4 separate regions of the Homo sapiens genome follow, and all the other regions are linked to region 2. The links are contacts of gene promoters, found by promoter capture Hi-C in blood cells and fetal thymus (Javierre and others, 2016). All regions are on one chromosome and are shown on one strand. Each heading gives the region's core, a stretch centred on a gene start or on the middle of the fragment in contact. The rest is flanking DNA. Distances are from core to core; before and after follow the strand shown. Region 1 overlaps SPTBN1 (spectrin beta, non-erythrocytic 1). Region 2 holds the start of PPP4R3B (protein phosphatase 4 regulatory subunit 3B). Region 3 overlaps SPTBN1 (spectrin beta, non-erythrocytic 1). Region 4 overlaps SPTBN1 (spectrin beta, non-erythrocytic 1).

What was found. The method cuts DNA at HindIII sites, captures the fragments that hold promoters and counts their contacts. A CHiCAGO score of 5 or more calls a contact.
Region 1: a contact is called between a fragment that was not itself captured here and the fragment with the promoter of PPP4R3B in region 2, in 1 of 17 cell types (total CD4 T cells). The highest score is 5.3, in total CD4 T cells.
Region 3: a fragment that was not itself captured here is called in contact with the fragment with the promoter of PPP4R3B in region 2 in 4 of 17 cell types (neutrophils, total CD8 T cells, activated CD4 T cells and 1 more); the score reaches 7.4 in neutrophils.
Region 4: a contact is called between a fragment that was not itself captured here and the fragment with the promoter of PPP4R3B in region 2, in 1 of 17 cell types (total CD8 T cells). The highest score is 5.6, in total CD8 T cells.

What each region holds. Positions count from the first base shown.
Region 1 is chr2:54,606,077-54,613,209 of GRCh38, reverse strand. SPTBN1 (spectrin beta, non-erythrocytic 1) reads right to left here. Exons shown (of 36, transcript NM_003128.3): 4 at 876-1,049. Among named protein-coding and RNA genes, the nearest start is that of SPTBN1-AS1, 51 kb to the right of the region's middle. The HindIII fragment of the contact is 4,624 bases long and covers 1,476-6,099 here.
Region 2 is chr2:55,612,563-55,620,117 of GRCh38, reverse strand. It overlaps PPP4R3B (protein phosphatase 4 regulatory subunit 3B), which reads left to right and starts at 2,496. Exons shown (of 17, transcript NM_001122964.3): 1 at 2,496-2,974; 2 at 4,612-4,667. The coding sequence starts at 2,833. PPP4R3B-DT (PPP4R3B divergent transcript) reads right to left here and starts at 2,188. Exons shown (of 3, transcript NR_186624.1): 1 at 1,736-2,188. RefSeq lists enhancers at 2,126-2,175, 2,196-2,595, 1,689-2,613, 2,614-3,540. The HindIII fragment of the contact is 10,945 bases long and covers 1-4,746 here.
Region 3 is chr2:54,555,217-54,561,999 of GRCh38, reverse strand. All of the region lies in intron 2 of SPTBN1 (spectrin beta, non-erythrocytic 1), which reads right to left. SPTBN1-AS1 (SPTBN1 antisense RNA 1) reads left to right here and starts at 3,295. Exons shown (of 4, transcript NR_185881.1): 1 at 3,295-4,332. RefSeq lists an enhancer at 1,587-1,756 and a silencer at 3,758-3,897. The HindIII fragment of the contact is 1,251 bases long and covers 1,370-2,620 here.
Region 4 is chr2:54,572,591-54,579,276 of GRCh38, reverse strand. All of the region lies in intron 2 of SPTBN1 (spectrin beta, non-erythrocytic 1), which reads right to left. Among named protein-coding and RNA genes, the nearest start is that of SPTBN1-AS1, 17 kb to the right of the region's middle. RefSeq lists an enhancer at 37-86 and silencers at 4,490-4,549, 4,620-4,779. The HindIII fragment of the contact is 3,791 bases long and covers 126-3,916 here.

The DNA of each region.
Region 1 (7,133 bases), core at 2,538-5,037, 1.0 Mb after region 2:
CTATGGTACAAAGTTGTTCCTGCCTTTCCAATTTTAATTGGAACGCATGAGTACGAAGCATGAGCCTGGAGAAAGAACCAATAATCAGGCTCGTGGTGGTGCACAGTCCCAAAAGGCTGAGCGCTCTCTCTTAAGGGGTCAGAGGCACCCACTATAGCCCTGGCTGGCTGTGTCATCAGAGGCAAGGTTTCAAATTTCTGTGGGTCCCCGATTTCTTCATAAAGTGAAAGAAGTGGACAAAATGACCTTGAGAGTACCTTCCGGCTTAAAATACTTCTATACTTAGAGCCTTCCTCCTCAAGTATAACAAAACCCATAAAGCATCATCAATTCAAAGAAACACAAGAGTTTTGTACTTTCCTCCTGCAAACTGCTTCCTCACATCCAAAGAGAATGAGAAGGTGAAAATGGAGCCCACACACATGCCATAACCCTCAACAGCTTTGCCAAAAAATGTTCTGTAACACATGTCATAGTTGAGTGAAGTTGAGGCAGTCTAAGCTAATAACCTAGCATTGGCCACGTCCTTATACCTTTGCTCCTGAGAGCCAAGCAGCAGAGACCAGATGTTTAGAGCAGGTGCCAGCAAAGTGGCGGGCTGGGATGCAGCCTAGAAGCCCCTGGGCCGCTGAGATGTGTCTGACAGGAAAGCTAAGATTACCAGGGCTAGTACAATTGCAGGAGGATGTAGTAGCTTCCACGTGCCTACGAGGCAGCATTCAATTCTGAGGGCTGGATATGACACACATGACTCTGAGACATGCTTTCAACCTGGTCTTCCCGATCCCTCTGATACAGGGAGGCCAGCTCTATAACAATGCTCATACCTGAGAGGTCGGCCTAAGTTCTGAGCAACCCTGGGCAGAGACCCTTACCTGGAAGCGCAGGATGATGGTCCAGATGAGGCCAAGGGTCAGCCGGTGGTTTCCATCCACGATGTCATGGGACCCCATGTTCTCAAGATGGACTCTCTGCTCCTTCAGGAACTGAAGGGCCTTGTCCACATTCTCTAAGCAGTGGATGCGCATTCGTCCCTTGGTGGGTTTAGGCTAGAAACAGGAGAGCAGAGGTAGAGACACATCACCCAACAGAGTAGAGATGAACCCCGAGTTACTGCCTAGTCACATGTGCCCATTCATGCAATGCTCTCCCGCTCAGAGCAGAACATTAACAAACACATGTACTCATTAAGTCCAAGGACGGTATTTACCTAACGGCCACAGAAAAAAAGTTTACTTAAGGGGATGATAACTGATTCCTCTTTAGAGAATAGTTGTGGAGCTATATAGTTTACAAATGAGCATTTGTTTAAGTTCAGGGAAGAGAGAATCCAATTTTCATGGAGAATTTCAGCGCTACTGCTGCCATCCATACAATTTTTTTTTTTTGCAGGTGCATGACAAAACACCTGTGAGGATTTTCTGATTACTTGGAATGTAAAATTAGGTTTGCCACCTGCTGGCAACCCTTAAGCTTGGCTCAAAATGAAAACAGGGAACACAACCATCAAATCAGAAGAATTTCCAAGTGGTGGTTGTGTGTGGAGGGATGGGGTGAAGGTTAAGTAAAGAAGTATAACTTACTGAAAAGAAGGGGAAAAGGGAAAAAAATGAGTGTAGTGCAATTTAAATACCCCAAATGTTTCTTCCCTCTACCCAGTTTTATCAAAACGTAAAAGAGGCCCTTGGAAGGTGAACATTTTAAATAAAACAAACAAACAAAAAATATATATATAGAGAGAGAGTAGATAATGCATATGTGTATATATACATCTACTATAAAATATACTATTATAGAAGTATATATACGTCTCCTGTAAAAGCACACACACATCTACTATAAAAATATAGTAAATATACACAGTTGACCTTTAGTTGGGCCTGAACTATTCAAATGCACTTATACATGGATATTTTTCAATAAATAAACTGGAAAACTTTTTAGAGATTGGTGACAATTTGAAAAGATTCAGATGAATGGCCTAGCCTAGAAATACCAGAAAAATTAAGAAAAAGGTATGTCATGAATGCATAAAATATATATAGATGTTAGTCTATTTTATAATTTACTACCGCAAAATATATACAAATCTGTCATAAAATTAAAAATTATCAAAACTCATACACACAAACACAGATTGTAATGGCACCATTTGAGCAGTATTAAATCTTGGTATGTACTGTACTACTATAGTAATTTCAGAGCCATCTCTAACTCCTACTGTGATGAGCTCAAGTATTGTTGAGTGCCTACTTAAAATGCCTATGATGCTAATCATCTCCACGTGGTCTCTCTAGTAAATTGGGTATCACAGTAAAAAGCCATCTCTCACAGTTCTTGTGTATTTTTCACAGTGTCTAGTGCAATACTGTAAACCTTGACTAATATCATGAGACCCAAAGTGCCACTAGTGATGCTGGAAGTACTCCCAAGAAGCAGAGAGAAGTCATGACATTACAAGAAAAGGATGAACTGCTTGCTATGTATTGTAGATTGAGGTCTACAGTTGTGGTGGCCCACCATTTGAAGACTAAAAAAAGAAAAGGAAATTTGTGAAGCCATCCCTGAAGCTACACCAGCAGATGCAAAGACCTTGCACTTTTTTGTGAAATATCTTTTTATCTCATATTGAAAATGCAGCGTTTGGCTGGGTGCAGCAGCTCATGCCTGTAATCCCAGCACTTTGGGAGGCTGAGGCGGGCAGACTGCTTGTGCCCAGGAGTTTGAGACCAGCCTGGACAACATGGCAAAAACCCGTCTCTACAAAATAAATAAATAAATAATGAATTAATTAAAAATGCATCTTTTATGTGAGTGCAGGATTGCCATAAGAGAGGCATACCTAAGGACTAATATGATTTGAGAAAAAATGAAGTCATCATATGACAATTTAAAGGCATAGGAAGGTGAAGGATCTAAGGCTGGAGAATGTAACACCAGCAAAGGATGGCATGACTATTAATTTTTAATTGGGTAGCCCTCAGAACCAGGAAAGGTTCACAGAGCTCCCAGTCTGATAATTTCGGAAAGAGGTTTGGCTTAAAAAATGTCAAGGAATTGGGAGAAGCAGCTTTTGCTGACCAAGAGGCAGCAGATGAGTTCCCAGGCACCATTAAGAAAATCAATGAAGGAAAAGTGTATCTTGCCTCAACAAGTTTTTAATGCAGACGAAAGTGCCCTGTTCACAAAAGCCCAGTAAGAGAAAGAGAGGTGAGCACCAGGACTTAAGGCATAAAGGGATAGGCTAACTCTACTGTTCTGTGCAAATGCAGCTGGGTTTATAATCAGGACTGCCCTTATTCATAAGGCTGCTAACCTTTGAGCCTTGAAGGGAAAAAATAAATACCAGCTGCCAGTCTTCTGGTTGTACAAAAAGAAGGCCTGGACAATGACAACCGGTTTTCTGAATTGGTTCTACTGATGTTTTGGTTCCTGAAGTCTCAAAGTACCTTGCCAGTAAGAGGCTGCGTTTTAAAGTTCTTTTGGTATTGGATAATGCCCCCACCCAGAACCCCATGAGTTCAACACTGAAGGCACTGACATGGTCTACTGGCCCCTAAACACAACATCCCTAATTCAGCCTCTAGATCAAGGGGTCATAAGGACTTGTAACGCTCATTACTACACAAAACTCTATGGAAAGATTTGTTGATGCTATGGAATAGAATCCCCAACAGAGAGAACATCAGGAAAATCTGGGAGGACTACACCACTGAAGATGCCATCATTGTTACAGAAAAAGCTGTGAAAGCCATCGAGCCTGAAACAATACATTCCTGCTGAAGAAAATGATGTCCAGATGTTACACAGGACTTCACAGAATTTATGACAGAGCCAATGAAGGAAATTATGAAAGAGGTTGTGGATATGGCAAAAAGGTAGAGGGGTGAAGGTTTTCATGATACGGATCTTGGAGAAATTCAAGAGCTATCAGACACCACATCAGAAGAATTAACGGAAGACGACTTGATGAAAATGAGTGTCTCCAAAAAGATGACAAATGATGCGGAAGAGGATGTAAAAGCAGTACCAGAAAACAAATTGAATTTGTTCCAAGGGTTCCAATTATTCAAGACTGCTTGTGTTATTTCCATAAAGTTACACCAAGTGTCCCTGCCTCTTCTGCCTCCCCTTCTACCTCCTCCACTTCTACTACACCAAGATGGCAAGACCAATCCCCCCACCTTCCTCCTCAGCCTACTCAACGTGAAGACAAGGATGAAGACATTTATGATGATCCACTTCCACTTAATGAATCTGCAAATATATTTTCTCTTCCTTTTCTAACATTTTCTTTTCCCTAGCTTACTTTAAGACTACAGTAATGTAATACACATAACATGCAAAATATGTTAATTGACTGTTTATATTATTGATAAGACAACAGTAGGCTATTAAAAGTTTTGGGGGAATCAAATGCATAGGAAGATTTTCAGCGGCATGGGGTTGGTGCCCCTAAACCCCCTGCTTTGTTCAAGGATCCACTGTGTGTGTGCATGCGCGCACTCGTGCGCGCATGCACACACACGCACACAAAATGGGTTTCTATTATCTGTTGTACCAACACCAAGCTCATGCCCTCGCCCATCTGGCTCCATCCTTCTCTCCTTCCTATTTCCCATCACTCCCCCTCTAGTAGAGGCTGCACCTGGAGCTGATGTCACCATCTCATAAAGATGCCAGGAGGATGCACACATCCACATGTAGAAGAACGCACTCAGCCTGTGACCCATCATCTTGACTTCCCAATCTCTTCACCTCATCACACCTACCTACCTTCCAAGGCTCAGGCCAAGGCCCATCTTTCCTTCCCGGAGACATTCCCATTTCCAATCATTCTGGTTCTCACAGCTCTTCTTTTCCTCACAACTCTACAACTAACAGGCTGGACCACAGAGCCCAGGAACTCATCATTATAATTTTGCTGTTGTTTCATTTATTGCTCTTATTACTTCCAACTAGACTGTTCGCTTCCTAAGAGCAAGGATGAGGCTTTATACTTCTATATTCTCAGGGGTTTTTGGTCCAGTTCTGAGCACAGAGTTATGTGCACAGTGAACTGAATGCCAGCAGACAGACTGGGCTTGGTGTGTGCTGAGCGGACCTCACAGGGGAAAGGGGGCCAGGCTGCAGCAACCCAGGTACACGCAATTAAGGGCAGCAGCCAGCCCTACCTTAGTATCTTGTCCATTCCCTGCTCTTCCCCTGGGTAGTTAAGATCCTCAGCTATGTGCTGTACGGAAAACGTCTGAAAGGAAGGTTACTTGGGTAACAAGCGGCCATTTTAAGTCTGTCCAGTCTCAGATTATTATTTTTCACTTTCTTTTCTCCTATAAAAAAGGACAAGTAAAAACAGAAGAATGTGGTTGACCTTGAGGAAATAAGATTATGTGCAGAGGCCTACCACAAGTAGAAAAATTTTATTTTCAAATATATTTGTCCCTTGGTATCCACAGGGGATTGATTCCAGGACCCCCAATGATACCAAAATCCATAAATGCTCAAGTCGCTTATATAAAACGGCACAGTATTTGATATAACCTATGCACATCCTCCCATCTACTTTAAAAATTAATTTATTAATTTTTTTTTTGAGACAGAGTCTCGCTCTGTCGCCCAGGCTGGAGTGCAATGGCACGATCTCACCGCAATCTCTGCCTCCTGGGTTCAAGAGATTCTCCTGCCTCAGCCTCCCAAGTAGCGGGGTTATAGGCACCAGTCACCACGCCTGGCTAATTTTTGTATTTTTAGTAGAGATGGCGTTTCACCATGTTGGCCAAGCTGGTCTTGAACTCCTGATCTCAAATGATCCATCCACCTTGGCCTCCCAAAGTGCTGGGATTACAGGCGTGAGCCAGCCCCCCGGCCTCCCATATATTTTAAATCATGGCTATATTATTTGTAACTAATACAATATAAATGGTATGTAAATAGTTGTTATACTGTATTTTTAAAAAATTGTATCACTGTTTATTTCTGTATTGTTATTTTTCATTGTTCTTCCCCTTGAATATTTTCTACCTGCAGTCAGTTAAATCTGCAGATGCAGAACCAGACCATAATAGCAATGGAAAAAGAAATGTCTTTAAACATTAAGCTTTTCACATTAATGTGATATCCTCCTTACCCCAAAAAAAGAAAGAGGTGGATTTTGCCTTTAGAAACTTCAAAATGATTTTAATTCGGTTATGTGGGAAATGCTAGAATTTGCTATTTGTGCAATGCCAGGTTGCATCAAAATCAAGCAATCTAACGAGGTAGGAAAAAATAGATATAAAATACGGGTGGGCTTAATCTAAAATTCTGTAACTCTGATTCTGCAAGTGCTGTTTGAGGTAACACTGGTGCTCTCTCTCCACGGTACACCCGTCAGCCTCCTAAAGCTGGCCCAGACACCATTACGCTCCTATCCGAGAAAGGGATGCCTGTGTAATCGGTGCCGCCCTAGAAGAGGTGGGTGGAGCAGCTCTCCCCGCCAGCAGTCACAGAACTGCATATGGCTCTCATGTGTGCTCTTTAAGTTTTTCCTTTTGTCTCCTGGATCAGCTATCATTTCTCATGCTGAAACGTGACTATTCACAGCAGCCCCTTTTCTTCTCACATCCAGGTGGTTTCTGGATTGAACGAAGCTCCTGGTTCAAAACTGTTCAAATTTGAGGGATGGGGATTAACTGCCTCTAAGAAAGGTGCAGGGGCTTCTGACATTTTTGCTGTTCAGGGGCCTTTTCTTCTCATTTCTTGTCAGTTCGTGCACCTGAGCAGTGAGATAGTGAGTGGTCCAGCTACATGTGCTGTTTCCATCACAAACAAAGTGTCTTCATGATGGGAACTGCAGATCAAGGGGGACAGAAACTTCTAACTGCAGCAGCCATTCTCATAAGTCTCCCTCCAAGAGGGTGGAGGCGACAGTGTGGATGGTATTATGAGAAGTTAAGGAAGAGAATAATGAATAGATGGGGACTGTCGGTACCTTCCCAGGCTCCAACCAGCAGGACATAACCAATGTTCTTTCAGACTTTATCCTGAAAGCTTGATCTCAAATAATCACTTGTCTGACTTACATTCAAATGAATGCGGTAGAAAAAGTGGTCCTCTCAGAATCTCCTCCCCACAAACAGGAAACATGTATGAGA
Region 2 (7,555 bases), core at 1,247-3,746:
AACCAAGTGCCTATCTGTACAGGTCACCACCATGAAGCCAGCCCTGCTCTGGCAACATACACAGGAAAATGGAATAGAGGTGATTCCAAGAGGAAAATTCTATGAGTGGCAGGAGACAAAGACTAAAAGAAGACTTAGTTTTCACTATATATCTTTGCCTTTTTTTTTTTTTTTTTTTTTGAGACAGTCTGTCACACTGTCCCCCAGGCTGGAGTGCAGTGGTGCAATCTTGGCTCACTGCAACCTCTGCCTCCCAGGTTGAAGCGATTCTCCTACCTCGGCCTCCCAAGTAGCTGGGATTACAGGCCCCCACCACCACGCCCAGCTGATTTTTGTATTTTTAGCAGAGACAGGGTTTCACCACGTTGGCCTGGCTGGTCTGGATCTCCTGACCTCGGGCAATCTGCCCACCTCGCCCTCCCAAAGTGCTGGGATTACAGGCGTGAGCCACCATGCCCGGCCTCTCTTTTTAATTTCATATGTGTAAAGGCATTACTTATTCAAAACAACAAAAAAGGAAGATTGTGGGCTTATTTGGTTAGCAACTCTTTGAAGTGGAACTTTGATGACTGCCTGAAGCAAAGAACATCTGCTGGGGAAGATGTGGTTATGGGGGGCCCTCAGACTTGGATAAGCACTGAGCCCTGTGCTTTGGAGGGGTCTGAAATCCATGGAATCATGGGACTGTAGCCACCTGCAGCCCACTTTCCCTTTTCCAGACCATGCTGTGGGCACTCTAGTATTCCCTATCCCAAACGCCAAGCCTGACTCCAGGGTCTGCACAATCCTCTTCCCAAGTTCAGTCTTCCTGGGGAGTAACCAAAGGGTGAGGCTTGGACAGAAGGCTGGAGAGTCTAACATCAGGCTCAAAAATTGTGTGAAGCATTCTCTGACTCTTCCAAGACAGAAATGTTATTTTCTCTGAGGTCAAAATACATTTTGTCCACTTTCATCACATCAATTAATTGGCTCTATTGTTATGTATTATATTATGATGATTTTCTTCAAGTACATTTTCTGAGGTCTCTAGATTAAAAAAAAAAACTATGAATCCAGATTTTGAAATTATTTCTATCAGCATGTGTTCTGTACACTGACCCACGTTGTAGTGTACTGCTGAAGGGTGTCCACACTTAAGCGATCTGGTCAAAACATAAGCACGTTTTAACAAGACCATTGATTAGTTATGACTACAACTCCCAAGATGCACTGCAGGGTCAGTGTGCGCGTCTCGCCTAGTTTTCACCGATCAGGCTAATGAGCTGCACAGAAGTGGCAGCTGAACAAGCTGAGAGACTGTATTAAAGAACGAATATAGCGGGGATGGGGAGCAGGCGTCTACGGTCCCAGCTACTCGGGAGGCTGAGGTGAGAGGATCGCTTGAGCCCTCAAGGCGGAGGCTACAGTGAGTCGAGATAGCGCCATTGCACTCTAGCCTGGGAAGCAGAGAGAGACTATCAAAAACAACAAAACGAATAAAGGGATTCTACCAAGAGTGAGCTGGACTGAAATAAACGACACGCTACTACGACCCAGCGCGTGACTATATCCACCGCACAATGTGCGATAATAGCCTCAATGCAGAGAGAATTCCTCCTTTCCTTATTCAGTGCAAGAGAGCCCTATAGAGAACGCAGGAAATGCCCGCGAGAAACTGAGAAGTATCAAAACAATCACAGATATGTTAGGAAAGTAGCTCCCCGCCACTTCCCTAAACTTATCATAGCAGACTTACTTTCCAAGGTTACAAACACAAGAAGAGCACTGTATTTTCATGAAGCGGAAAATGTGCTTTACAATCGCCAGCTACTAAGAGCCTTAACGGTGAAGCGCTCTGCAAGAAACAGGAAATCGTCAACACACTTTCTGCATGAATTGCCTGGAGAGTTGTGTCCATAGACAATTCCTGGTTAGATGCTTAATTGTAGCAGACTCCATAACGGGGTTTAGCGGGTTTCCATTCGGCAGAAAGGGCTCCACGTTCTTTTTCACAGAAAGGTTTAAACTTATTTTTCCTCCTCAGGCGGACGAAGTGAGCGTCGTTCCGTGAAGGTATGAAACCCTTTTCCTTCCTTTCTGTCCCTGGTTACTCCGGTTCAAGGCTACGTACTTCCCCGGTTTGCTTTGTTTTTTCCTCAGAGCTAAGTTCCTAGGAACGTCACATACTGGTGCCATCCAACAACATGACGACGTGCGGAACCGAAGTCCCCTTCCACCTAGCGGCCTCTCGCGGCGCAGGCGTGGACGGGGAGATCGCGAGAACCTCCCGCCCAATTGCGACCCCGCGCCAAGAGGCGGGGCCGAAAGAGGAGGAAGTCGGGCCGAAAGAGGAGGAAGTCTCGCCGAAGTACTCCCGCCCCAGTCGGTACCCCTCCTCGCGAGAGCGCCGAGCATTCCGGCCTGGGAAGCGCGTGCAGAAGCGGAGGTGCTGCTCATGGGACTTGTCGGCCGCCGTAGCCCCTGCTAGGACAGCCCGTGCGAGCCTGCTGGAGGAGGAAGAGAAAGGCAGAGAGAGTCGGGTTACAAGATGGCGGATCTGTAGTAGTTACCGCGGCGGCGGGAGAGCAAGCGAGCCCTGGGGGGCAAAGAGACGGGAGAGTGGGTGTATGCGCGGGTGAAGTGAGAGGTAACGGGGCCTCCGGGCGGAGAGGCCTCAGTGGCTCTTGTCACCCCTTCTCGCGGCTGAACCTTTGGAGCCATGGTGAATTCGGGCCTCTCCGAAGCCGCCGCCGCCGCCACCGCCACTACTGCCTTTACCGTCTCCTAAGAGTGAGGAGCGCGGACGAGGTAAGCGAGGAGGCGGCGGCTAGAGCGGTGGAGACAGCAGCCACCATGTCGGATACGCGGCGGCGAGTGAAGGTCTATACCCTGAACGAAGACCGGCAATGGGACGACCGAGGCACCGGGCACGTCTCCTCCACTTACGTGGAGGAGCTCAAGGGGATGTCGCTGCTGGTTCGGGCAGAGTCCGACGGTAAGGTTATCGGAACTGTAGAATAGGGGATAGTGCCTCTGGTTGGGGCACAGCTTGGGTTTAGGGCCCTGGGCCCGTTACCGTTGCTACTCCTTCGGGACAGCGCGTTGGTTCTGAACTGGCTCTTGTGTACGGCAAAAACAAAGTACTGTACTTTTGACTGGACTTATCCTCGGAGACCGAGACTCTCTGTCCTTCTCCCATCTCTCTTAAGGATTGGACTCCTTCCTTTCCAGTCCCTCCTCTTTTGAAGAGGGGAGAGTGTGAGAGAGAAGGGAGGAAGTAGTGAGAGACTAGGTACTGATGTCGCCCTAGGAGCTGACACCTTCCTCCCCCTTTATTTACTTATCCATTATACGTCTAGTACAAACGGTTTAGGGAAACTTTTCTTTCCGAGTGTTTTTAAAAAAAAAAAATTGTACCAACGGGCCCCAGGTGCCACAGTCGACAGGTGCTGGGGAAAACCGAAAGGCACGTTTTCCTGGCTGTATTGCTGACTGTTGCCACGATACATGGACACACAAGCACATACATCTGTAGTCTGCATTTCTTCGGGCTGCCTTTGTAGAAGGCGCTATGAGAAAGTGAATGCCTTACAATCTAAGCAAGTTGGGACACCAAAGCAGGTTGTAAACTGCTGTGTTCTTTGGTTTATTGTAGTCATGTGAAGTATTTTAAATTACAAAATGTAGAGCCGTAATTAAAATGCCTTTTATAGTATAATCTGGACTTGATTTGAACAACTGATATAGGCAGTTAGAAAAATAATCTTAGGTTTAGTCTTGACATATTTTGTATTCTTGCTTGTTCCCTTTTATTTTAAATAGTCATCACTTCTACAGAAGGTGTTCTTTTGTTCTTAATGAGGAAAGGATAAATGCAGCACTGTAATTTCTATACTAAGTATTTAATCCCTGTCATGATGTTTTTGTTTTGTAATTTGCATTATTTGTTAAACTGGGAATGCAATAAAACAACTTTTGTTAAAACGAATGGCTTGAAGTGGTCATTTAGACCTTAAAATTTTTATTTCAATAAAATTTTAATAGTCATCTAGTCTCCTCATTCCTTGGTTTGATTGTTGGTTTTAGATTAATTTTTCCTTTAAGGGTGTATGGGAATAGGGTGAAATATTTTAGATTAAATGTGAAGCCTAGATTTGGAGAGAAAATGTGAATTCGAATACATTTTATTAAGATGTCCAACTCGGTAAAAAGACTTGAAAAGTTTGCGGGGGCGGGGGGCGGGGTTTAAATGTGTATTTTTTTTTTTTTTTTTTTTTTTTTGGAGACAGAGTCTTGCTCTGTTGCCAGGCTGGAGTTCAATGGCGCGATCTGGGCTACTGCAACCTCTGCCTCCTCTCCCTCTCTCTCAAGCGATTCTCCTGCCCCACCCTCCCGTGTACCTGGGACTACAGGCATGCGCCACCACGCCCAGCTAATTTTTGTATTTTTAGTAGAGACGGTTTCACCATGTTGGCTGGAATGGTCTGGATCTCTTGACCTCGTGATCTGCCCGCCTCCCAAAGTGCTAGGATTACAGACGTGAGCCACTGCGCCCGGCTTTAATGTGTATTCTAATTTTTATTCAGGGTTTTATCATTTGAGACTTATGATGTATTATTTTTTATCTTTCAGGATCACTACTCTTGGAATCAAAGATAAATCCAAATACTGCATATCAGAAACAACAGGCAAGTAGTTGTTTATCTTTAATTTGAAAGACTTCATCTGTGATCAAGGAAGTATTAATCTGACAAAGGTGGGAAAGCTTTCCTGACAAGAAAAAAACATGTTTGGTAAACAAAGATCATGTGTATTTCTCTTGCAGGTTAAAAGTTTCAGACTGAAAAAAAGTTTTTGTACTGGTGATAATTATCATTTTTGGATTGAGCCACTGTCGGTTTATTCTAAGATGTATTTATTAGTATTATTTAACTGTAGTTAGCCAAGTCTCTTCTATACCTTGTACATGAAACCTTTTATTCTGAGTCACGTTTAAAGGAAATGACATAGAACAAAATTCAAAGGGATACTCTTAAAGCAAGGAAAGCCTGTTTGTGGTGTGAAATTAAATCCTTTGACTCAAGTAAAGGTAGAGGTTTTGAAGTAGAAGCATTAAATCCTGCTCTTTAATTGTTGTGTATTTTTAATATAGTAATCAATGGATACTTTATAAAAATGTACATTACCAAGTATGTAACATCTTCTGTTAATATTGTCTTATTTGGGAAAGAAAATGTGTATTGTATTTTAGCACGCCTGATTAATCTGAAAATGGTAGCAGTGATTCAATCTTTTTTATTCTGTGAATGTTTTTGTTTTTATTATGAAATATATTAAAATTGAAAAGTACAGAGAATAATCGGTGTCTACTGTAACACCACCAGATTTAACAATGTTAATGTTACGCCATATTTGTTTCAAATATTTTTGTAATATTGAACATTATGGATAGAGTTAAAGCTTGTTTGTATCCATCCCGTTGTTTACATTCTCCATCCCCTACATAGGTAACCACTATTCTGAAGTTGATGTGTATTCTTTGTGTACATGCTTTTATACCTTTTCTGCATATGTATGTATCCATAAATAATATGTAGTCTGTTGTGTGTTTTTAAACTTTACACAGTGGATGTCATACTCTTACATGTATTCTGCAGCTTGCATTTTTCACACATTCATTTTGAATATTCGTTCATGTTAACAATGTAGATCTAGTTTTCTTTTTAAACTCTGTATAGTATTCTTATGTATGACATACACTTGTTGTTATACATTTGAATTATTTCCAGGTATTCTTTTTTGTGTGTGGTATGTAAAGTCACGATGGCAGAGATTTTTGAAGGAAGATAAATTATTTTAGGATTACATTTACAGCGTCAGTGCCCACTTCAAGGTTTATGAAAATTTGGATGCCCAGAAACAAGTACTTCGTAGTTGGAGGAATAAAATTCTGTCTGTTGTGCAGCTTATTATTACAAAGTCTTACTGTTAGAACAATTATGTATATAACACATTCTTAATCAGTTATTTGAAATACTTTAAAATTTTCAATATTCAATTCATAGCTTTTTTCTCTGTTTAGAAAATATTGTGTGTCTTTTTTGATGGAGAAGCAAATTAAACATTTGTCCTGAATTGAAAACCTGAAGATGTTTCCTATACCTTAGACATTGTAAGGTAGACATTTAAGTAAATTTAATTTCTCAGTCAGCCAGGCAGCTCTTAATCTCTGTCTTTATACCGAGTTTTTACCAGATGATCACTTTTAGTTTGTTTTTGTTTGCTTGCTTCTTTGTGGGGAAAGAAATACTAATTTTTTTTTTTTTTTTACCATATTTCCCTTATCTGCATGAATATAATTATCAGGAACTTTGTTCTTAAATGTAACTAAGTCATAAACAGTTCCCTACAAATTTAGGTTTAATAATGGATTCTTCTCAGATTGTATATAAGATCTTTTAGCTGTTGTTACTTTGGAAACATCACATTATGGAGTAGGTTTGTATTTAAAATAGTCACCCAACATAAGTTAAAAATACATAGTGATTCTGTGAATACTTTAGAATCATTAGGATATGTAGGTAATTTCATGTATAATGTTGCTCTACTAGAAAATTAGTTCTAGATAATTAGCATTTTTGTATACACTTAGTATAAAGTATTGGAAAAAATGCATTATTTAAAAAAATTACACCATTTGGAAATGTTTTCTGTAATCACATTTAAATAATATACTATTTGGGGTTTTGTAATAGTTTATTTTTTCGTTGGGCTTTTTTTTTTTGGCAACATAACATTCAGGTGTATAAGAGAACTCTGGTAATGAGAAGAATATGGAAACACTGAAGAAGAGTGAAAAACTTGTGTGAATGATGTTACCTGTTTATTTTTGTTTAAATTGAGTACACTTTTCTAATTGAAATCATAGGGCCATTTAGGGGTTATGTTAAACTTAGTTTCTTTGTAATAGACATGGTTTTTCATATTTTCACCCAAATCTTCAATTTGCACTTTTGAAAATAATTTTTTTGAGAGGGTCTTCTTCTGTCCCTTAGGCTGGAGTACAGTGGTTTGATCACAGCTCACTGCAGCCTCAACCTCCTGGGCTCAAGCGATCCTCCAATTTCAGCCTTCTGAGTAGATGGGATTATGGATGTGAGCCACCATGCTTGACTAATTTTTTTTTTTTTTTTGAGATGGAGTCTCGCTCTGTCGTCCATGCTGCAGTGTGGTGGTGCGATTTCTGCTCACTGCAAGCTTCGCCTCCCGGGTTCACACCATTCTCCTGCCTCAGCCTCCCAAGTAGTTGGGACTACAGGCGCCCGCCACCACGCCCAGTTAATTTTTTTGTATTTTTTAGTAGAGATGGGGTTTCACCGTGTTAGCCAGAATGGTCTCGATCTCCTGACCTCGTGATCCGCCCGCCTCGGCCCCCCAAAGTGCTGGGATTACAGGTGTGAGCCACCAAGCCCGGCCAACCTTACTAATTTTTTAAAAAATTTGTAAAGATGGGGTCTCGTTATGTTGTCCAGGCTAAATTTGCACCTTTAAAAAATTTATTACAAAACTTTGTTGT
Region 3 (6,783 bases), core at 746-3,245, 1.1 Mb after region 2:
GGTGTTGGGTGTTGGTGGTGAATGCTACAGCCATCAGAGGTTGAAGGGCTTGTCTTCTTATGCCAGGAGGCTTCGTGTGATAAAGCCATCACTCTTGTATCTCAATGAGGTTTTTTTTTTAATCACACTTATTTACTGACCCACAAATCTCTACAAACTATAAATCTCTACAAACCATAAATCTCTATAAACTATATATTTATGACTATCCTTATTTTTATTTTAAACTATATATAACTATATTTATATATAAATATATAACTCGATTTATATTTATATATAACTATATTTAAACTATAAATTTATAATATCTCTATAAATTTATAAACTATAAATCGCTATAAACCATTTTATCTAAATAGACCAGACTCATTTTAAAATTATATTCTCCTTAGCCAGAACTCCAAATCTCATTCTATGGCACACCTCCTGAAATTTTTAGGACCCAGTGTGGAAAGTAACTTGAAACCAGCCAAAATGCAGAAACAACTCCAGAAAAATCATAGCACTATCAGGCACAGACAATACATAAATAAGTTCATATCAGAGGCATTAAACCCAGTACAGGACTGGCAAGGTAGCTCACATCTGTGATCCCAACACTTTGGGAAGTGAAGGCGGGAGGATCATTTGAGGCCAGGAGTTCAACACCAGCCTGAGCAACATGGTGAGACTCTGTCTCTACAAAAAATTTAAAAATTAGCCAGACATGGTATAGTCCCAGCTACTTGGGAGGCTGAGGTGGGAGGATGGCTTGAGCCAGGACTTCAAGGCTGCTGTTGAGTCGTGATTGTGCCACTGCACTAGAGCCTGGGCAACAGCGTGAGACTCTGTCTCTTAAAACGAAAACAAAAAACCCAATACAGTTTCAGAGGAGCATTTTGCCAATATTCAGAGATTATGTGCTAGGAAAGATTATACTCAGAAGAGTAAAAAAAGGCACCCTTGCAGGAATGTACAAAATTAAATCAGCAGATAGAAATTATATGTTATCAAAAATATGTGATAATCAGAACTACAAATACCAAACAAAACACAAAACCAGGGATGGGAATTAAAGAAAGGTTTTGTGTGTGTGTGTTTAATCAAAATTCTCCTAGGATTGTTTAAAATGCAATCGGTTCATTTGTTCTGAAGGATGCTGACAAATGTGTGTAATTCTCCTGAGGTCCACCATACTTGAAAGTTAATTCACCCTTTCTCAATTCCTCAACATGGGTGGTTTTCTGCTACAGAAATACCAACACTAAACTTGTGCAACTCCTAAACCACAATATTTAAAAATAAGAAAGTCACTGGGGCTAAATTAGGAGACAAGGGTCACACTAAAAAAAATTATTTTTAAAGCTACCACACAAAACACGAAGCTTACCCCTTTCGAAGGGATTTCCTTGAGAAACAGCGTATGAGGTAAAATATCAGGGGCACATGATTTTTTTTAAATTTAAACTTTACGTTGTCCAGAGAGGACAGTTAAGACATTTCCTGTGTGTAGGCTCCACCCTTCTCGGCGAGCAGTTTTAAAACCTTCCTCAGCCCTTTCGGAATAACAGCCTTTTGTTATGGGTGGGCCTAGGGGTGCACTCCTCCCTCACACCTTCTATTTTCTCCCAGTTTTGCTTTTTTTCTGAGACTTCCAGGCTAGGCTGGCGGTGGAGTGGGCTGACGATCCCGGTGGGTGCTTTCCCCCAGGCGGGATGACACAATGAAGCTGGGAGTCCGGGCCAGGGGAAGAGGAGGAGCACGCAGTGGATTCTCCGACCCGAAAACCGTGAGGCCCCTAACAAACCTAGATAATGAACGCCCCCCCCCACCCCAACTCCTCTATTTACTACTTGCAAGCGCCCCCAGCTTAAGTTTTCAAAAAAGCAAATTTGACTGCCGAAGAGCTCAAGAGAAATGAACCAAAGAGACACAGAACCGTTCCCCAGAGCGAAGGGAGCTTCCTCTGAGCTAACTGCCAGAGGAATGTGGCACAGCCCAGCAAATGTTTAAAATCACGTCCTGTTCTGCCTCGTTTTCCAGAGAAGTGTCATTACTGTCAACTATTTCACAAGACAAATAAACCAATGAATGAAAGACATCCTCCCCCCTCTTCCCAATGAAAAACATTCTAGGGCTGAGCGGCTTCCTTCCTTCCTCCTCCTCACAGGAACCACATTTGCAGCACTGAGGAGGTTAAAATAAGAAACACACAGTCCTCGAATACTACTTTTTTACAGTGCTAGAGCCATTCCCAGCCTACTACTGACTCCAGGGGCTTCCAAACGGAAGGAGTTCTGTTTTCAGTTAGGAACCTTTTTTCATGTATAAGCTCTGAGACACTGCTGGCCAGGGCCTGCTGGCTGGGCAGGGACAGCTGAGGGGTGCAGGGGCCGCAGGGAAAACAGCACACTGGTGCACACACAGGCTTCTGCTCTCCCTAAAAATATGTTCAGTAAAATATTGGACTCATTCAATTGTCTGAGCCTTAAAAAGACTCCAAGAAACCTGTAATTGATCCAACTAATCCAACCCATAGGGTTGAAATGACAATAACCGGCTTTCATTAGAAATTATATAGCCCACTAAATAGATGGGAAGGCTCTTCCCAACACATCAGAAAAATTAAAATTAAGCTTCTGAATAAAAAACTGTAATTTACCAAAGGCTTAGGAACAAAAAGACCCCTCCCTCCTCCCCTTTGCTATTGTTCTACAGGACTGGGTCTGAGCACGGCACTTTACACCTTTAAAGCTTCCCAGAGGTAAGAGGCTGGGGGCTGGGAGCCAGAGGCGACCCGGAATCAAATACCTGCATACTAATAAGTCTATGAGCACTGATCTACTAGGAGGTAAAGTTAGCTAAAAGTAAAGAAAATGTGTGTGCAGCAGTTATCTGACAACCTAGAAAGCCAAAAAGGTGCTGGAGAGACAGGGACTCCAAATGGTAGCTCTTCTGGAGTGGAGTATGAGCAACTGCCTTCCCTAAGTCGTGAATGGGGTGCCCGCAGCCAACCACAGGGTCTGGGGCCGAGCTGTGAAGCCGCCCGTCTTCATTAGGGTCACAAATAAAGCCTCCAAGAACCCCCGTTGGCACCCAGGACAGGCCCGGCCTTTGGGAGGGGGCTTACCTTGCAGCTGCTTGAATCTGCCTTCCAGCTGGTTGTAGTTGTAAGGCACCTGCCCCGTGTACGCCGGCGACAGCGGCCCGGAGATACTAGACGTCCTCTGCAATTCCATTATGCCCGGCGTAACGCCCCGGAGGACTGCGCCCTGGAAATCTCGCTCCAGCCCCCTCCCACTCCCATCCAACACGCAGCAGCCTCCGCAGCGCTCGGCTCCTTAGGCGAGCCCCATTCCGGTCTGCAAGTCCAGCAGGGTGATCTGATGGGAAGTTGGCTGCAAGAGAGTCCACCTTAGCTCCGCGAGGAGTTACCACACAGGCATCTAATTTCTTGCTTTCCCTTCTTCCGTGGCCCTTGCCTGGAAGCTCGAAATAAATTACTGAGGAGGAGGGAGAAGCAGAGAGGAGGCGCAGGTTCTACTTCAGAACTTTTAAATATGGCCAATCCTAAGCATGCCACGGTTGCCGAGCCCGGGAGCTCGCGGGCGCAGCGCGCACACCTCCTCCCAGCTGCCCGCGGCGGCCGCCGGTTTGTAATTTTATCAGGAGCCACTCGCCGTGTGCTGGGCGGTGATGTCACCTGATTAGCATAACAGCATTGTATTAGAAATGCAGGCTATACCACGAGGAGGGGCGCGGGGGAGCCTAGCCGGCCCGCGACCCCCTACCGGTCCCGCACGGTCCGCGGTCGCCCCAGCCGCCCGGCAGCCGCCGACCCCCGGCCGGGCCCTGGACTCGCCGCGGTAGTGCCTTCCCAAACAGAGCTGCTGGAATTACAATCTTTTGTTGAGCCTCATGTAACGGAAAAGTCTCCGATTACTATCACTTGAAAAGGCTAGCGCGCCCACGGGACGGCCTGGAGAGTGAAGAGCCCCAAGGGTCCCGGGCCCGCGCGGCTCATTCACTCTCTAGCGTCTGCTGAGGTAACGCGGCCCGCACCTGGGCGCGCGCGACTGCCCCAGTGCGCTGGCGCCAACCACGCGGCGGCGGCCCGGCGAGCCACCGGGAAGAAGTCAGACAAAGTCACTCTCAGGGCGCTGTGCAGCGCCACAGCCAGGGGAGGTGTAAGTTCGGGCTCAGTGAAGAATCTCGGCTGACTTACGCTGCCATCAGGGGATATGAAGGCGGTGGTTTCCTGGAATAACACGGGCCTATGATAGGAATTCGACGCAAGGAAGATTTATGGGAGCACCGATTTGCAAGGCATTGTGGGAAAAAGGTACACAGGTAAACACCGCCGAGATCCCTGACCTGGAGTTGTTTATGATCCGGAGGGGAGATGAGGGAACCGAAACTACCCTCAAATTCCTACTCTGATTTGTAAAACAAGGCCTCTAAACTTGTGGTTCTCCAAAATTTTAAATCTCTCCTTCCCAGCTTCTTCTCCCACCAATCTCAACCAAAAATGAAATCTTCCACATAGAAAAGAGAATGATCAAAATGTATTCTTGGGAAATTGACTCTAGATCTCCCCCCTCTCTCTCCACCCTCCTGTCCCCCCTTTTTCCTCACTACCTAAACAGGCAGACAACAAATTACACTTTTGGCATTTCCAGTTTGGAGCCCTACAGCAATACTCACTGAAGAAGGTAATTTCATTCCTCAGGGATCCCAATATGTAGTAAAGACGTGGTCCCCCACCCCAGGTTCACCTCAGTCCCCAGGGCACTTGTAATTGAAGTAACTGCATCCTGTCCAGGCTTAGAATTAAACCCAGAGCCTAGCTAACTGCTCAACGCTGAACAACCCCCAACTCCTTCCAGCCACATAACTAGGTTTTTAATACTTCCACATGTCAACCTTTGGCTTTTGAAAGCCAGGCCCAACCTGAAGAAGACAACATTTCTTATCATCTAAGATGTAGAACATTTTTTAAAGCCCCTAAGTGCTGCCAATTCACAATGCTGATGGGAGGCTAGGCAGAGCATTACAAAACACTTGGTCTTGGAAAAAGCACTTGACTAGGATTCCCAAGACCTGAGTTGCTAGTCCTGGCCAAGCCTCTTAATTACCCTATGACCTTAGAAGAAACCCTGGATTCTTTCTAAACCTCAGCTGTCAGACTGAGTAATAATTAATGCCCACCTCCACAGGGTCACTGAGGAGATGATGTGGAAATGTTCTAAAAATTATCATACTTTCAAAATTAAGAGTATATTCTTCAAAATGCACCCCTCCTTTCATCACCCCCCGCCCACACACACAAACACACACACACACACCACATCAAGACTACAAGAGAAGTTGAATTGGGAACCGTCTCAATGAAGATCTTTTTAACAAGCCCTTTTTCACAACTAAGTATACTGGTGAAATGATAAGTCTCTAAGTGTCCAGCTATGGCACTGAAAATGAGATTACAAAGTGCTTTGCCAACTTATAACGTTTTAATCATTGGGCCACTTAATGAAGAAAGGGAGTCACCACTCAGTATCTCCCTTTCAGCTCCCTCTAGTATGGGTTAGTACATGAAATAATTTTTAATTAACCAGGTTGCACATAATATGATGGCAGTAGAGCTGGGACGAACGTAGCCACACTCAATCCTGTGAAGCCAACACTGAATGAACCAGGCAGAGTGAACACATGCAAGTATTAGAAAGGTTTGGACACTGGGGAAGGGTTTAATAACCCCACGGGGATAAGAAGTAAGAAATGGGAATCCATTTGGTGTGATGGGACCAGGGAAGAATAAGACAGATCCCTGATGGCCCATCTGACCACCTCCAGTTCAGAAGTGGGGAGGAGGTAAAGGAAGGCCAGAGGTATTCATTCTTTATTTCTTCAGTGTTTACTGTTCTGTATTTACAGTATTTAATGTGTGCAAGGCACACTGCCAGGTGTTTTAGAAGATTCAGAAGTGACCAGGAGTGTTGCTAGCCAAAGGAAATGGGACAAATGTGCAAACAGTAAAGTACCAAAAGAATATAGTAAGGGCCAGGGGAGGACAGCTCTAAGAATTCAGAGGACAAGGAGGACACATCTGCCTTTTGGAGAAAGGTAGGTGGGAAGAACTCTAGGAGGGACTGGCATTTTGATCAAACCTTGAAACACAGGTAGACATCAACAGGCTGGAACAAGGGAGAAGCCTCCTCTCAAGCAGCACAGTAAAAGCATGGATGCCCAGGAAACAGCACCAGCAAGTGCTGCAGTTTGGCTGGAGGATAAGGAACCGTCAGGCTGGGAGGAAAGCCCCGAAAAGCAAGTTAGAACTAAGCCTGGTCTGGAGCCACTGGAGACTTTTGAGCCAGGGGAGTAGAGGGTGTGGGCTGGACTCTAGAGATGATTAATCTGGAAGTGGTATGTAAGAATGGGCAGAAAGGAGAGGAAATGAAGGCAGCAAGGTCAACTGGGTGGTTAGTGCAACAGTCCAGGTCAAAGGAGCAATCAAATGAAAAAGAATGGGCTGACGTAAAAATTAATCCAAAGGACTTTGGTAACTAACTGTATGTGGGAGGATCAAAGGAAAGGGACAAAGAAGACTCTCAGGGTTTTACATCTGGCTAGAGGGGTGCAGGGGACAAGTGCACATTTCCTTCTAGACAGGTGGAATCTGAGTTACCTGCAATACCACTGGGTGACATGTCTGGAGCAGTCAGGGATGTGGAACTAGAGCTCAAAACTGAAGATACAGTCCTGAGTGCAGAGGTGGGAGTTGAGATAGTTGTGGGGTTAAAT
Region 4 (6,686 bases), core at 772-3,271, 1.0 Mb after region 2:
CAGGTCAAACGGAAGCTGTTATACTTCATTCTATGTGCCGTCAAAGCTCCTTCTATGAGCTAAGAACACTGCAACTGAAAGTAAAGGTAAAAGAGGTCATGAGCTAGAGAAACTCCTAGGAAGCTTTATTCTGAAAAGAACAAAATGGGAATATATAATATATATTAGGTTGGTGCAGAAGTAATTGTAGTTTTGTCATTACTTTTAATTGCAAAAGCCACAATTACTTTTGCACCAGCCTAATACATTCATACCAGAGGGCTTCTCTATAGCACCCTCAAAAGAAAATTTCTTGGGAAAAATGGTGACATGGCACCTTTCAGTCTAGCAGTGTTAGGCATTCCTAAGAAAGATACTCAGATTTCTCCTGGACAGAGAGGGCATAGAAGAGAACAAACCCAGCATTCACCAACCCAACAATCCTATTAGGAATCTTATGATTCTGGACTCTTGAAGTGGCAGAAGTAGCATCATACACACACACATCAGAATTATCATCACACACACACACACACACACACACACACCCCATCAGAAGACACTTGCCTAGGCCAAATTAAATCATTTCTGGAAGTGGGCAGGGTATAAATAATAAATATAAATAACTTGCCTCACTGATGCCAAATATAGATCATAATGAATGGGAACAAAATCAAGTTTGTGGTTTTAGGATACAAGTAAGGCTGAACACGTAAGGATGAACTCTTAGAAACAGTTTTTATATCTGCTATGGGGAAACTCAAAAGGTGGCCTGAAAACACAATGCAAATCGCAGCTGGAAGTCTTCACTTATACTTGGCAGCAGCAGCAGCAGCAGCAGCTAACCGGAAACAGGGATTATCCATTTTATTCACACAGGGACATCACAGAACAAAAGGCTAACACTTAGCCCAAAAACACCAACAAACACTCAACCAGTCGAAAATATTTAAAGTCAAGAAAAATCAGCAATCTCCAATAATCTGAACTTCAGATGTGGTTTCCTGGCCTAACTCCATGTTTCTGGGTAATGCCATCACCTTTGAACATTGCTCCAAGGTTATTCTCTGTGTAGCAAATGCTCAACGATGCAGCAGTGAACACTGTACTTTTAAATCCAAGATTCTACTTCAGTGCCAGTACAGTTTATTCCAGGTTCTCACGGGTACATTACAAATAATTTCATATACTGGGAAAATACAGATCAAGAGAGTCTGTACTGTCAGCTGAGTCCTTTATAGTCTGGAATCTCCAAAGTACCATCAAAGAAAAGGGAATAAAGTCCTCCAAGATAAGGCAAGGCTTGAATTTTACATGGCATTCACCATGCTGCTCCTTGTTACCATCACCAATGAAGAGTGAGAGTCTCAGCAAATCCTTTAAGATTGAAAAAAGGATCAGGAATTTCTACCTCTCAACAACTGCTTTCACTAAATCAAGGTTGCCCAGGGTCCTAACAAAATCCTAATGTGGGATCTACAAAAGCACCAGGTGAAAAATGCTCAACAGGCAGCACAGCAAGATGGTTAAAAATTGAGTCCCAAAGCGCACTGCGTGGGTTGGAATCCTGGCTCCATTTACTAGTTAAGTGTCCTTGGGCACAGCTTCCTTTGTGCCTCAGTTTCCTCATCTTCAAAATGGAAATAACACATCACACAAGGACGCTATGAGGAGCATATGAATCAATACTGCAAAGTACTTAGGACAATGCCTGCACAAGGGGAGTATCAAGAAGTTTTGGTGGCTATTACCATTATCAGTACCACCACCAATACAGGGCTAGACTTTAGGTAGGGACCTACTTTCCTTCTCTCTTTGCATGAGAATCCATATACCTTTTCTTTTGCTTTCCCTCTCCTTTGTAGCTTGTTAGGTTTCCCACAGGACTGATTTTGTGAGCTCAAAGCATGAGAAGCCAAAAATGCTTAATGTTTTGGCAGTGGGCATCTACCCAGAAGAGCCTTGGGGGAGCACATTCGGTAAAATGAAAGTGACCAGAGTAAACGGCCATGCATTTATTTGCAGGGGCCTTCAAATCTGTATCAGACAATCTACAACCCTAACAGGTTAGAGAACTGAAATGCAAGTCACTTGTCCAAGGTCATTTAACCAACATCAGCTGCTAAGCAGCACCTGATTCCCGGGACCTGTGCCAAGATTAGCTGGCTGTTGGCTAACAAAAAGGAGGCAAAACCCCCAACTAATAATAAGCATTAACAAATGAAATGGAAGGGGAAAAAAAACTTGCATGATGTCCCAAGTAGAATTCTAGCCATTCCCCAACATCCTCCATGGTTTCATGACTCCCTCTGTACACCCCTACCCCCAAGCACCCATCATCTCATAATCTAATCCAGGTCATATTTAAAAACTTGCAATCAATGTCAATTCCTCCAAAATGCTTCCCCCACATCCCAGGACCAAGGAATGATATTTGCATGTTTGGGATCACTTACCTAGTATTCCCTTTCAGAATGTAATTTGAGACCGTGGCTGTCCCTTACACACCTGTGTTTCCAGTGTGCTCAGCACTGTAAGCTGCTCACCTTGACACCCACTTGCTGGCTGAATATTGATTGAACAGGTGGATGGATTTGATGGCTCCCTCAGTGATCTTCAAGCTAAAAATGGGTTCTAAAAAGTCATCCTGCCTTCTTCCACGGCACTTATTCTTGGCTAATTAAGAGGTACATGCTACTCCATTCTCACAGCCAGGCAGCTGTGGCGCATCAACTAGAGCGTATAAGCAACGGCCTTCCAGGATTTGTCAGTTGAGTTTTGAGTACAAGTTCTAGAAAGTACTACTTCTTCAAAGTATAGAGTAAAAAAAAAATTGAAGTAACAGAGCCAACAGCTGTTTTCCTGGACCTACACATACCTGACATCAACGTTCCAGCTTTAAGTTATTAATTAGGCCAAAGCAATAGCAGAAAGAAGAGCTGAAGGCCGGGCGCGGTGGCTCACACCTGTAATCCCAACACTTTGGGAGGCCGAGGTGGGTGGATCACCTGAGGTTAGGAGTTTAAGACTAGCCTGGCCAACATGGTAAAACCCTGTCTCTACTAAAATACAAACATTAGCCGGGAGTGGTGGCAGGCACCCGTAATCCCAGCTACTGGGGAGGCTGAGGCAGGAGAAACGCTTGAACCCAGGAGGCAGAGGTTGCAGTGAGCCGAGATCGCACCATTGCACTCCAGCCTGGGAGACACAGCCAGACTGTCTCTCAAAAAAAAAAAAAAAAAGCTGGATCTGAGTGACAAAAGGAAAAAAACACAGACCATTACCATCATCCACCTCTCTCCCTATCCCTGCTACCATAACCTAAACTGTACCAAAGTCTGGGCCCTGCTTTAACCACTCATCCAACCATGTTTCTCGTACTACAGGTTAATTCCTGTCTCAGGAGAAAAGACCAGGTTCCCATGACTGCCTAGGCAGAGGCATGTTGAGACCCAGCCTCTCAAATGTCTGTACACATTTCTCCTCTCCTTTTGGTTGAGAAGTTTGTGGACAGATTCAAAGGAGTTCCCGATACATCGAAACTGAGCCTTCACGCCACTGAGTCACTGCTTAATTGCATCATAACAGATGTTCAGCTGCAGGTATTTCATCCAGCAGCTAAAAATCCAGAGCCTTTGCAATTGCTACCAGTGGGTCTACATCCACGTCTCTGTGTACAAAAGAATCCTGATATGTCAACGCTCAATATCACCTGAATTTAAGCTATGGCTCAAGTTAAATGCCCTTAGGCAATTTTACCTTAGTTACTTTTACCAAATACCGTATCCACAAGTGGGTGGACGTCAGTTTTGTCCTTCGAGATATGCAGATGCATTACTCATCCCTCCAATGTTACGCTCTTGCAACATCAATGATAAGCAAATTAGCAGACTGTTATCTTTTTAATGGAAGAATTTACTCATCAATAGCAAAAGCTTTATCAGAAATTGACATTATTGAATCCTCTGGAGTTGCAGAAAAGAAAATAAAAAGAAATTGATATTGGGAAAACCTGACTGGTTTCTTTCAGCTGTGTATTGTATTGCTAGGTTAGGTGTGACACTTAACACCTGTGAATGTGGCTGAATCTCCAAGAATGATCAAATACACAACGCTCTGGATTTAAAACAAAACAAAAAAAACCTCAAAATCTACCCATGTGCTGATGGATGTATACACTATGCCTTCCTACGTGTCTCCACCTATTTAGACGAAGCACACGCCTTGAATTCACAGAAATGTTGAAAACGGCCCCCTCTTGCTGCAGAAGTTCACCATCACCCATTTTCTTACTTGCTGGCTAAATGAGGCTGCCACCTCAAGTCATCTTTCTGGTCCTCAGGTTCCTCAATCCACAAAGCAGTTATGATACCACCTAGCACACAGGGTGACTGAAGGGATAAATAATATGTTCATGAAGGTACCTGGTTTATGCCTGGTTCATGCTGGAAAGCCCCCACACACTTTTTCAAAAAGTCATGTTTGATGCAGGAGAAAGAAGTCAGTGGTTTAACTAACTACATCACAGGCATCAGTAGACACATGAGCAAAGTGGTGGAAGGGTGTGACCTGCAATTCCAAACCAGACTGCACTGATCGAGCTCTCATGGGATCACTGATTCCCCACGTGCCTGACATGAGCATGACCCATTCTAAACACAGGCCTGCACCCTGTGACTCAAGTGCTGCAGCTTATCAGCAACTGATGGGCTTTCTGACCCTGGGTGAGAAGACCTGACCTCCAAAGGCAGGAGGAAGGAAACCACATGATAAAAATCATCACTCTGAGGGGAGGATGCTTTCTGCGCAGCTAGGGCTAAGGAAGTTGTTTCAAAACAGACTCAAGAAACGTGTAGGCTGCTGCTAGGAGACTTGGGTCCAACTGCTCCCTCCAGATCCTGCCACACCTAAATGATCCCAAGAAGATAACTATCTCGGAGAAGCAGTGTGAGGTAATGGTTTAATGCTAGGGCGTGGTCAACAGCCAGGTGCAAAGGCCGGCTCCGCCACACTAATAACTGTATGGCATTCTCTCCAAGCCTTGCTTTCCTCATCTGTAAACAGAGATAACGCCTGACCCTATCTCTAGCATTCTTCTGATTGTGAAATTAGATAATGTATGTCATAAATAGCACAGTCTGGTACATAAGTGTCCAATAAATGTTGGCTATTGTTACTGGAAAGGTGTCTGTTTCCTTCATTAGACCAGTTGAGGGGACCTGAGAACAAAGACAACCCCAACATTTGTGTCCCCCCACAAAAATTTCTTAGATTTAATTATGAGTTTGTATTTTCCATACGGGGTTCATGCACATTATTCTAACTGATTCTCACAGCAACCCCAGAGGAGAAGGGAGGGCTGGTGTTCTGTTTTGCAGGTGTACAAAGCACCCCCCTCCCATAAATACATCCATTCAAATCCCATTAGAAAAACAGGATCCGTTTTCCTGTCTCTTGACTTGTTTGTGAGCTTCCTGAGGGCAGAGATAGAAATTACACCCCTGTGGCCCTAGTGCCTGAGCAAAGAGCCGCAGGCAGAGGCCCTCCATAAGGCTGAATATTAAAAAGGGGTTGAGTCATACTAAGAATCATAATTATTCTAATGACCATGTCTCCTAGTAGTCCAAAAGGAGTTCTGTTTCTAACGCAGAAAACCTTAGCAAATGAGTTACACTGTGAATTCCCGCTGAGGGAGGAGGAACAAAGACAGAGGATCCCAAATCAACTGCTGAATCACCGAGTCAGGGGTCCCCAACCCCCAGGTCACAGACCGGTATTGGTCCTGGCCCGTGACCTATTAGGAACCGGCCACACAGCAGGAGGTGAGTGGTGGATGGGAAGCATTACTGCCTGAGCTCTGCCTCCTGTCAGATCAGCAGCAGCATTCTCACAGGAGCCAAACCCTATCATGAACTGTGCATGCAAAGGATCTAGGTTACCACTCCTTAATAAGAATCTAATGCCTGATGATCTGAGGTGGAAGAGTTTCATCACGAAACCAACTCCCCATTTCCTCCACCCTATCTGTGGAAAAATTGTCTTCTACAAAACCAGTCCCTGGTGCCAAAAAGGCTGGGGACCGCTTTACTAAGTGACCTGTGCATCACTTTCCTCTTCCAGAAACATGGAGCAGAACAGCTACTCCTTATAAGCAAAGAGGGAGCAAAGATCAATGACATAATTCACATCTGCAGACAACTATGAGCTCACAGGAAACTGAGGTAAGAAAGGTCATTTCAGAGTCATTTAATGACAACAATGGCTGAGATGAGTATCTGGTGGGGTCTGGGCCCGCCTTCTCATCTGATTCCCAGCACGCTGTGGCAAACACAAAGGCAGTCAGCTTCTAGAGCCCCTTCCCACTCACACTGCTCCTGGGCCGTGGGTCACACTGCTCTAGTGCCCTTCCCTCAACTCCAGCCCTCTCCCTTTCCAAAAACCCATCTGAATTTACTACCCTGATAAAGACTGCAAGTGTATGGTTCTGTAGCCAAGAACTCCTAGTCAAACTGGCTACAGTCAAGCCCACTGCTGAACGAGTATGACTTTTAAAAATTGCTTCCTTGTGTTTCAAGTGAAAAAAATAACATCCCACCTCCAAATTGAAATCATATATGTATATTTGTAGAGGAAAAACAAAGATTTTTTGTAAAGGGGGGCAGAGATTGGGAGGCACAAAGGGCTGGGAAAGTAGTTCATGGGCCAAA